2 separate regions of the Homo sapiens genome follow, and region 2 is linked to region 1. The links are contacts of gene promoters, found by promoter capture Hi-C in blood cells and fetal thymus (Javierre and others, 2016). All regions are on one chromosome and are shown on one strand. The core of a region is centred on a gene start or on the middle of the fragment in contact, and the rest is flanking DNA. Distances in the headings are between cores, read along the strand shown. Region 1 holds the start of MTG2 (mitochondrial ribosome associated GTPase 2). Region 2 holds the start of LOC124904949 (a long non-coding RNA gene).

The links. The method cuts DNA at HindIII sites, captures the fragments that hold promoters and counts their contacts. A CHiCAGO score of 5 or more calls a contact.
Region 2: a contact is called between a fragment that was not itself captured here and the fragment with the promoter of MTG2 in region 1, in 2 of 17 cell types (erythroblasts and neutrophils). The highest score is 6.1, in erythroblasts.

What each region holds. Positions count from the first base shown.
Region 1 is chr20:62,181,128-62,186,237 of GRCh38, forward strand. MTG2 (mitochondrial ribosome associated GTPase 2) reads left to right here and starts at 1,901. Exons shown (of 7, transcript NM_015666.4): 1 at 1,901-1,930. It overlaps SS18L1 (SS18L1 subunit of BAF chromatin remodeling complex), which reads left to right. Exons shown (of 11, transcript NM_198935.3): 11 at 1-1,387. RefSeq lists silencers at 1,530-1,719, 1,759-1,943, 1,950-2,119. The HindIII fragment of the contact is 5,602 bases long and covers 664-5,110 here.
Region 2 is chr20:62,637,507-62,642,884 of GRCh38, forward strand. LOC124904949 (a long non-coding RNA gene) reads right to left here and starts at 4,831. Exons shown (of 2, transcript XR_007067711.1): 1 at 4,147-4,831; 2 at 139-3,840. It overlaps SLCO4A1 (solute carrier organic anion transporter family member 4A1), which reads left to right and starts at 4,997. Exons shown (of 12, transcript NM_016354.4): 1 at 4,997-5,047. RefSeq lists a silencer at 4,485-5,378. The HindIII fragment of the contact is 4,159 bases long and covers 1-4,119 here.

The DNA.
Region 1 (5,110 bases), core at 651-3,150:
CTCCTAGGAGACGGATGTCACGCACAAATGGGGAGAGAAGTGTTTATTTTGTAGGCACTAAGGGTTTCTAAAACCCTTAACACTGGTAAGGGCTCAAAAATAAACGTATGTGTTCATATTCGATCACCGAAATGAGAGTTCTTAATTGCTAATTGACAAACGCGTTAGCAATTTCAGTTAGGGAGTCATCTCCCTTGATTGTGTTCTTTTCCTGTCAATTTTCATAGACCTAATTTGCAAACTCAATCGGGGACTAAAATTTCCCACTGAAAATGTTAAACATTTTAGATAACTGTGAAGATAGTTTATTTTTATTCCTTGCCAATCTGGGAATATGCCTTTTTTGTGTGTTTGTGTGTTTTTTTAAGTGCTGTATTAATAATACTTTCTGAAAGAAAAGGACACTTACCCCAAAACTTCAATCTGAAATGTCTTACATTAAGAATATCTTGAATGTTGTGTATATATTTTAAAAAGCACTTTGCAAAATAGTTTGTACATTTATTTCCTAATTTATACATGATTTTTGGTGTTAATATATTTAATGATTAATAACAGAATGTTTATTTAATGTGCTGTCCATTTTTATGTAATATTATGGGGAAAGTGATGCCAGCAGTTCCTTTTCATTATTCTATCTTCTGTCATATGAATGTTGAGCAAAGCTTAGGCCAACATGAATTGTTTGTGAAGTGTGGTTGATGGTGCTTTGTTTTTTTCTGACTACTTCTATGGAAGGCCAGTGAAGAAGCAAAGGAAGACATGAAAATTGACGCTCATTCTTCTTCCTATTGTTCCCTGACATCCAGCAAATTGTGAATTTGAAAAATGATGGCCAGTTTTCAGAAGTGCTGACAAATTCATATTGGTATGCAAAAGCTCATCACCCATTAAGGTTTGTTGTTGAATCAACAGTACTCAGCATATTAAAACAGTACATCAGAACTCATGCCAACAGTCTTTATGATGGGATTAAGGTGGACAAGATCTCCTAAGATCTGTGAATGGGATTAAGGTGGACAAGATCTCCTAAGATCTGAAAAGAAACCTTAATACGCTCATATGGTTGGAGTGTTAAGTGAACCTCTGATTTTGTCAGGGTTTTTCTACGTGTAGGCGTGAATAGGGGGCACCCCTTCAAAACTGTACAAAGAAGACGACTGTTTTCCATTTCCATTTAAACATTTTTAGCCACTTCATTTCTATTTATTGAACAGGTCAAATTTGTCTTGTTATTTGTGAGTACAGTACATTTAAAAAACATCCTTATCGGTTATTTTTTTTTCAGTCGGAGTTTGACGTATAAATTGTTTATGCTTTTGGTGTAATCTCTTAATAAACTGGTTCTTCAAAAATCATCCTATAAAGTGAGTTTTCATGAAGTTAACGGGATTTTGGTGTGATGTGTTTTGCAAATACTTATTACCGAGACCAGGTAGATCGTCACCTCGGCTCCCGGGCAGAGTTCGCGTGCGTCCGCACCGGATTCCCCGCGGCGGCAAGGCGAAGCCAGGGTAAGGGCGGTGGGGACGGCGCCCCGGGGCTGCCCTGCGGTCCCCACTGCCTGCTCTGCGTTGCCCCGTAGCCTCCTCGGGCAACGGCGGTGTCCTCGTCAGACCCGGGAGGTTCCGCAAACGCCGGAGGGGTCAGAGAAGCTGGGGGACCTTGGGCACCGGGTGGAACGGGCGGGGCGGCTGTCCTTGTGCTCGGGCAGCGAGGGCGCCGGCGAGAAGCGCGGCTGCAGCTGAGCGCTCCGCATCCCTCCTGCCGTTGCTCCTGCTTCCGCTACCAGGGACAAGGTCGCCTCTCGGTCCGTCGGCGTGTTTTCTGCACCTGCGCACTGGGCAAGCCTTGGGCTTCCGGAGCCAAAAGGCCCCGGAAGTGGTCGGCCGCTTGCGACGCTCCGGAAGTGACGTGCTTTCCCGAGCCGGTGAGTGCGGGAGCGGGGAGCGGGGAGCGTGGGCCTGGGGGGTGGTCGCGGCCCGGGCGCAAGGAGGGGCCTCGGCTTGGGCCGCGGGGTACCGGGGCGCTGGGAGCGGGAGAGGCCCCGGCCTAGGAGCTGAGAGGCCTGGAGGGCTGCCGGGCTGCGAACCCCGGCGGGACCGAGCGCTGCGGCCCTGGAGTAGCGAGCGCTCGGGCGGTGGGGAGCGGCGCCTTGCTCCCCGGTCCTGCCCCACTCTCTCCGCAGAACCGCGTTTTGGGGTCAGAAGTCTTGTCAGCCACCCCGGTGGTGCTCTGTCACGGGATGGGTGCCGTGTGTGAGTTCCGAGTCAAGTTGTTAGGAATTTGCCTTGATCCAGCGCTCTAAGTATTAAACATTTTAAAGTGATTATTGGCAGTATACAGTTGCACAAAACAACATAAATATATACACATTTGGATGATAAAACAACAATAAAGTTTTGTATTGTAAACGCGCCTCAGGGAGACGCATTTCCAGATAATTCACTGTCCGTGGCTGGCTTCTGCCCAGTGAGAGCGGGTTACCCGTTCTATTCCCATTTACGTTCTCGTAGCTGTGGATACCGAGGAACGGCGTTCACACAGACCTGTAGGTGGGAATTAGAGGGGTTGTTGGGCAGTGTCACTAGAGAAATACCTTTCTTTTGTAAAGGGGAGGACCCATTATAAAAGGGGGACGGGAAAGGAGAATTCAAATTGTTTTAAACGCAGGTTCGTCCTCAGGCAGTTCTGTTTTAGCAGAGAGAACGTAGCGAAACTTGGGCAGAAAATGGATTCCTTTGAAATTATCCTGGCCTTAGTCCCTTGGGAAGTCTGTGTAGGCGAACCTCAGTGAGAAGATTCCTGCCGTAAAATGCAGGTGTCAGCAGCATGCCAGGGAGGCCAGAGGATACTATGTGACTTTGGGCAAGTGACTGAACCTCTGTGAGTCTCAGCCTCCACTGCTTTAGATGGGCATAAAAAATGTAAAGTCAAGAATCAGGTTTCCGCTGGGCGCGGTGGCTCACGCCTGTAATCCCAGAACTTTGGGAGGCCAAGGCGGGCAGATCACGAGGTCAGGAGTTAAAGACCAGCCTGGCCAACATGGTGAAACCCCATCTCTACTAAAAATACAAAAAAGTAGCCGGGCGTGGTGGCAGGCGCCTGTAATCCCAGCTACTGGGGAGGCTGAGGCAGGAGAATCGCTTGAACCTGGGAGGTGGAGGTTGCAGTGAGCCGAGACCGCACCACTCTGCTCCAGCCTAGGCAACAGAGCGAGACTCTGTCTCAAAAACATACCCAAAAAAAAAAAATCAGGTTTCATGCTCACAGGAGGATTTGAGGAGGGTTTATAAAGGGACCGTTTGCAAAGGCAGAGTGCAGGTTAATGACAGTTGGTCCTTTAGCCTGGAACTGGTGGCAGTGGAGTTTCTACTCCTGGACTCCAAAGGATCAGGGAAGGCAGCAGTGATCGGGACAGGGAGAAGAGTCACTGGGGAGGGCTTCTTGGACTGGAGGTGTGAGCCTCAGTCTGAGTGGGCAGGGAGGTCCATGTCCCGGCCTCCTGCTCCTGCCTCCAGTCTCTGGTAGAGGGCCAGGTCCCAGTAGGTTTTCCTATGGGGCAAGCTCAGGCTCCTGACACACAGCACAGGGCAGGGTGGAAAGCTGGTCTGGAAAAGCAAATGGAAGATAGCTCGGCATGCAGTATTACCCCTCGCAGGGTATTATCGTTAGGAATACATTTAAAAGTGGATATATTGGTTGGGTGTGGTGGCTCGCGCCTGTAATCCCAGCACTTTGGGGGGCCGAGGCAGGTGGATTTCCTGAAGTCGGGAGTTCAAGACCAGCCTGGCCAACACGGTGAAACCCCGTCTCTATTAAAAATACAAAAATGAGCTGGGTGTGGTGGTGGGTGCATGTAATCCCAGGTACTCGGGAGGCTGAGGCGAGTGGATCACTTGAACCCATGAGGCGGAGGTTACAGTGAGCCAAGATCCCACCATTGCTCTCCAACCTGGGCTACAAGAGTGAAACTCTGCCTCAAATAAAAAAGAAAAAAAATGGCCAGGGCGTGGTGGCTGATGCTTGTAATCCCAGCAATTTGGGAGGCTGAGGTGGGCGGATCACGAGATCAGGAGTTCAAGACCAGCCTGGCCAACATGGTGAAACCCTGTCTCTACTAAAAATACAAAAATTAGCTGGGCGTGGTGGCATGCAGCTGTAATCCCAGCTACTCGGGAGGTTGAGGCAGGAGAATCCCTTGAACCCGGGAGGCAGAGGTTGCAGTGAGCTGAGATCATGCCACTGCACTCCAGCCTGGGCGACAGAGCGAGACTGTCTCCAAAAAAAATAAAAATAAAAAATAAAAAATAAAATATATACACATACATATATATACATGTATATGTATGTACACAAATTAGCTGAGCGTGGTGATGGGTGCCTGTAATCCCAGCTTCTTGGAACGCTGAAGCACAAGAATTGCTTGAACCCAGGAGGCGAAGGTTGCAGTGAGGTGAGATCATGCTATTGCACTCCAGCCTGGGAGTGAGACAGAGTGAGACTCTTGTCTCAAAAAAAAACCTTTCTGTGATGAGGGCAGTGTTCTAATATGTGCTGTCCCATATGTACCCACTCGTGACATGTGGCTGTGTGCACTTAGATGTTACCTCAGGGACTGAGTTTTTACATTTCAGTTAATTTTAGCCAAATGGCCACATTTGGCCAGTGGGGACTGTGCTGGACAGGTCAAGGACAGCCTTGTTGGAAGGAAAATAAAGACACCAAAGAGCAGCGTGAAAACAGTGGGATTTGTTCATCCGGCAGGGGAGAGAGCACAGCACTCAGCGGGCCTCCAAAGAGAAATTGAAAGGGCAAAAAGGAGGAAGCAAATTAGGCAAGACTCCGAGTTCAGGTCTCTGGTTGGCTTTGCAACCTTCTCTGCGGTTGATCTGCAGGTTCCATGTCACCTGCATCAGGAAGCCTGGTTTCCAGAATATCCGGGCTGGATGGTGTAACGTTCCAGCAGGCTGAGCCGTGGCTATGCTTGTGTTGATGAGCCCGAGTTGTTTTTCCCCAACCTGTTTTTATGCACCACCCCTGAGCCTTCCCATCTGATAGCTCTGGGTTAAGTCTCTTCACCTGTCTGCCCAGTTTCCGCAACTTTAAA
Region 2 (5,378 bases), core at 790-3,289, 460 kb after region 1:
GTGGGGAAGGTGCCAAGGCAGGGCCCTGGAGATGGGGACAGGGACTGCCCACTTCCATTTGCCAAAGTCTCAGCAAATGAAACATGAGGGAATGAATGCTCAAAGAGGGCTGCAAACAATCGCCAACAAGGTAAATGATTACATTTAACGCTTTTACTGTAAACACTCTCAATGCAATATAATCTTGCTAGTCATGCTGGGTGGGCCGGGATGAGAGTTAGCAGAAGACCTGATGGGTCTGTGCCTCGGCGGGTCCGGACTGCATGCACAGTTGTATTGGAAGCTAAGATAATCACTCACCTAACACGAGGCCCTTCCAGAATGTGAGGTCTCAGCCAAGTGAACCCTGTGAACACCTCCACCCCCAGACCCGCGGGGAGGCTCAGGAGCCAGGCAGACCGAGGCAGTTCCAGAAGCCCTTGGGCTGGCAGACGTTTGCCTCTTTGTAAGTAAGAGTGTATGCAGAAGACCTCACAAGCAGATCACCAGTGAAATTCAGATGACCCTTCTAGAGAGGCTGTGGGCAGCCAAGGCCCCAGGTGTGGACAGGGCTGCTGCTCTCCAGGTGCTGGGGGCCCCAGCATGTCTCTTCCTACAGCTCCATGTGCCTTTGCCACGGAGCCACCGGCATTCAGTGGCCTCTTCCCCACTTGGCTGCTATGTGTCCCCTGGAACTCAGGGCACTCCAGGTGTCCTCAGGTCATGTCTCAGAGCTCAGGGCCATCTCGCCAGGCAGGGAAGTCCAGATTCCAATTTTTTCTACCCCACACCTAATCTCTAACAGCAGGCTCTGAACACACAGGAATCAGTTGGTGGCTTCTAAAGAGAACATGATACCGTCATGTAGCTGCCTGTCCAGACGCTGAAGCCTGTGCTTTCACCGGACCCTAGTGCTTGTGAATGACGACCTCTGTTCTCCTGGGTCAAAACTTCCTTCACCACCGTCAAGAAGGCCACCCTTTGTCGGCGGGTTAAATGCAGTGTTATTTACATATGGTTTATCTGGGCATCTATAATCCCAGGGCGAGAGCCCACCATCCACCAGCATTTTGGAAGAACGCCTGAGACCTGAGACCTGAGACCTGGTGCAATGGAATCAGATTCCCTGGTAGCTGCTTTTAATGGTGACAGATTCTCTGAAACAGAAAAAGATTGAATTGAGTCTGTCTCCCTGGAGTCGTCCTGCTCTGGGAGATGCAGAGGGAGGGCGGCAGGAGGGAGGACAGTGGGAGGCCTCTGTTGGTCAATTGCTAGGCTGCTGTCACCAGATGGTGGATGGCGTTTGTACAGCACTGGCCAAGGGCCCAGCTCAGCAGGGCCAGAGCCTCAGGTCATGTCGCAGGTGAGCAAAGCAGCGTGGATGGAAGACGAAGATCTTCGTCCCACGGAGGGCTTGCTGTGCGCCCCGCAGGACGCAGATCACCGGGAAGAGCAGGAAGCAGAAGCGCAGGAAAGCCAATGCTGTGACTGAGGCGTGGCCAGCAAGCCAGGCCCTCCAGCCACACCCTGCTCCAAAGGGGCTCCGACAGGATGGACTGATGATTTCCAAGAGAGAACATGCTTTTTATCTTCTATGGAATTTTGCTACCAAAGAGCCTCCCAGCTACCTGTGCCCTTCCCTAACCTGACAATCTTAATTCCCCCATGAAACTCCTCCATCGCGGACATTTGGACAACTCCAGGCTGAGTTTTTCCTAAGGCCACTCTGGCCTTGTGCGTCTCTTCTTTGCTAAGCTGTGTGCCAGCCGCCAGCCCACATCTGGGTTGTACCATGATCCTAACTCCTCACCTGAACACAGCATTTAACAGACTGAAACGTGCCACTCTGGAGCTGGGGACTTCAAGCCACATTTCGCCTGCAGCCCGATCGCCTTCAATCTTTAGCAAAATCCTCTTTCTCATGCAAAACAGTGCAGTCGTAACTTTTAAAATATTTTTTAGAAACTTTCTCTAGAGCCTCCACCACATGGCCACAGCCTGAGACTTTGAAATAATGAAACAATTAAATGATGTTTTCATCATTTCTGAGACTTGCCCATTATCACGAAGCTGAAATGGCCATTTTTTTATAAGTCAAGGAAGGACAGGCAGTTTCAAATGAGTTGGCTAAGACATACGCCAAATTCATAGAAAATAGAAATGAACTATGACTACAGAATGGAAGCAACCACAGAAATATTAGCAGGATTTTAAGTATTATCCCAATCAAGTACTAATAGCTAAGTGAGGTCATTTTTTGGATACCATTCCTGGTCAAAGCTAGGAATGATGTGTGTTCCAGGCTGGACCCTCCAGGCAGAGGCACCGGGATCCCACGCTGTTTCTGGGTTGGCCATTAACCTGCCCCTTGACCTGACAGCGTTTCTCTCTCTTCTCTCTCTACACTTCTCTTCTGATCTTTAGATCGATTTTCCTCCAAGTGACAATGTCCATAAAGAGAGAGGGAGGTGGAAATACAGGCTGTCACATTTCAGCTCTTTGAGGTGCCTCTAAAGATGATGTCAGAGAACAGTAAGTGGCCCACAAATGTGCAGCATCTGTTCCGAGCCTCCTGAAGCCGCCCGGACAGGCAGCAGTACGACCCTGCAAGGCCACAGGGGAGCCAGGGGGTTCTCGCTTTCTTTTTCTTTTAATTATTTCCTCTCAAAAAAGAAAAAAAAAAAAGAAAAGAAAGAAAAAAAGCCCTGCTGGGATAGAACTTATTGAGTTCAGAATGTTCCAGGGCACATAATCAGGCTGCCCTTGTTCCAAGACACTGCTGTGCTCTGTAGCTGACCCCCGAGTCCTCTAGGGCAAGAGTAAGGACACAGTCGGCTCCCGAAAGCTGGTGCAGATGGACCCCACCACGCAGGGCCTGGAGTTGGGCCAGACCTGCAGACCCCCTTGATGGCCTGCGGCAGGACCCTTCACCTGGGTCAAGGCCTCCTGGTGCTCCTAGGGGCCTCTTGAGGAGCCTGGGCACCAGCATTTGCCTTTGAGGACAGGACTGAGGGCCTGCATTTTGCACGAATGTACCTGAAATGTTTGCTCTGGATTTACCTTTCCAATGGTGCCTATGCAGGAATCCCAAAGAATGCCTGGTGGGGTCTGAGGCGGGTCTCAGGCCGGGAGCCCTCCACAGGCAGCAATATTTGGCTAGAATTTAATGCCATTTTGTTTCTTTTTATCTATTTTTATGGTGACCTCTTTGTGGTAATTGACACTGACTTTTTAAAAAATAAACTTACCCTTTTAATCAAATGTGTGAATTGTTTAAAGGAAAAACATTGTGTAAATAATGTTTTCAGGGGGTAGAATCCAGACGTGAGTTTTGGAAACAGAGTCCAGTCCTGCTTCTGACATTTGAATTGCTTCTCCAGCATCATCACCAGAAGATGGGCTACCTGTGCTCACAAGCCTCCTGTAACACGGAGCTCACCACCTCTCAAAGGCACCTTCTGTCAGGTCTGCCTGGAAATGCTGCTCCCGCAGACTCCGCACCTGAGGCCAGGTCTGCAGCGAAGCTCATCCACACCTGAGGCCAGGTCTGCAGCGAAGCTCAGCCCCCTTCCTTCACAGGAGAAATACTTCTGGGTGTGCACCTTCCACTCCTGGCAGGGCCGTGAGCCCCTGTGGCAGTGCCTCACCCTCTGGGAGGGACCCTCTCCATCTGGGAACAATGTGGGTACTTTTTTCTCTTAAAGGGCAGTGTCAGGAATGAAAGCAGATACCCAAAAGCAGTGGGTCTCGTGGCCTCGTGTCTGCTTCCAGAAGTGGAGGGCGGCCTGGGACGGCGGGAGCCCTGAGGACACCACCGGGGGGGTCCCGGGACCTGATACGAGTGGGCAGGAGCCCCAAGCCCTGGAGGAAGGAAAACCATTTCATAAATAACTGCATGGGGTTGTGGGCCTTTTCTCACAAGCCGCAGCACCTCCTTCGTCTCTCCACGGTGAACCCGCCCGCCACGCTATGCCACCAGGCCAGGTCCTGCAGCACCGCCTCCGTGGCTAGGACTTCCTCACCAGCCTGGGGCCGTGAGGTGGTCATTTCCCCCCTTACCTGACTTATCTCAGGATTCACACACACACACTTGACTTTCGGAAACTTCTTTTAAATTAATTTCACTGACACTAAAAGGGAAGCTTTGTGGAGTGTGATTGTGGTTACCTGTTAATACTTGGCAACAATTATGAGCCCTGATATGAGCCAACTTCTTCCGTCTTATCCCCTTTGAGGACGCTCTGTTATCGCCCCCATTTTGCAAACGAGGAAACTGAGGCTCGGAGGCCTGGAGCAATGTGTTCCAGGACAGACGGCAGGAAGCCGGGGTAGGAATTCCAACAGGGAGTTCCCTCTGTGGAAGGGAACGTGGCTGGCACCTCCCTGCCTTCCACCCTCAGAGCTAGTGTGAAAAAGAAGACGGGGTTATGGAAAAGGCAACGGGCTGGAGATTCCCCGGATTCCCAGGCTAGGGCGCCGGTCTCACTGTGCGCGCAGGTGGGGCGCGTGCCAGAACAGGGCCTGGGGGTCAGGCCGAGACCGGCGGGCACCTTCACCAGGGCCGCCCGTGGCGTTCCCCCAGCCCCTCTGCCGCGGGCCCCACGTGGCCCCGACCCTGCGGCAGCCTTTCGGAAGGGCGGAGCTGAAAAACGGCCGCTTGGCTCCACTCGGCCCCACAGCGCCCAGGAGCGAATCCCGAGTCCGTTCGGAACCGCCTCGCCGCGTGGCCTGGGGCGGCGTCGCCACCGCGCGTTCTCGGCCTCCCGGCTGCGGCAGCGATGCCGGTCCTTGGAGCTGGAGCGGGGAGTCCAGGAGGCGGCAGCGCTCCGGAGAGAGACGCCCTGGTCCCCCGCCGCGCGTTCCCGCCTCTGTGCCCTGGGGGGGAGGAGGGGGCGGTCGCCGCTGCCATTGGCCGTGGGGGGTGAGGCGGGCCCCGCGCAGGAAACCCCGCCCCTCCCTCTGCGGCGGGGGCGGCCCCAGCGGATGAATGAAGCGGCGCGTGGCTGCCGGGGAGGCCAGAGCGTGGAGCGCTGCGCGGCGCGGCGGCCGGGCCCTCGAGACGGGGACGGTGAGTGCGCGGGGAGCGGGGAGCTGGCGCGGGTGCACAGGGCCCGACCTGCTGGCGTAGGAGCGCGGCAGGTGCCGCCATCGTGGGCAGGGGCTGGAGCGCCGGGGGGATGCGCGCGGGGGCGGGAGGCCTGGGCACCGGCCGAGCGCCCCGAGCCTCTCCGCGGGGGAGGGCAGGACCGAGCGGAATCGGAGGCCAAATTCGCCGCTTCCCGCCGCCGGCTGCGCAGGTAGGAGCTCCCGAGTCGCCCGCAGGAGGACCGAGGCGAAGGGGCCCCACGCTGCAGCGGGTGCCGGGGGGAAGCGGGTGAGCAGGGGCTGCGGCCCTGGCA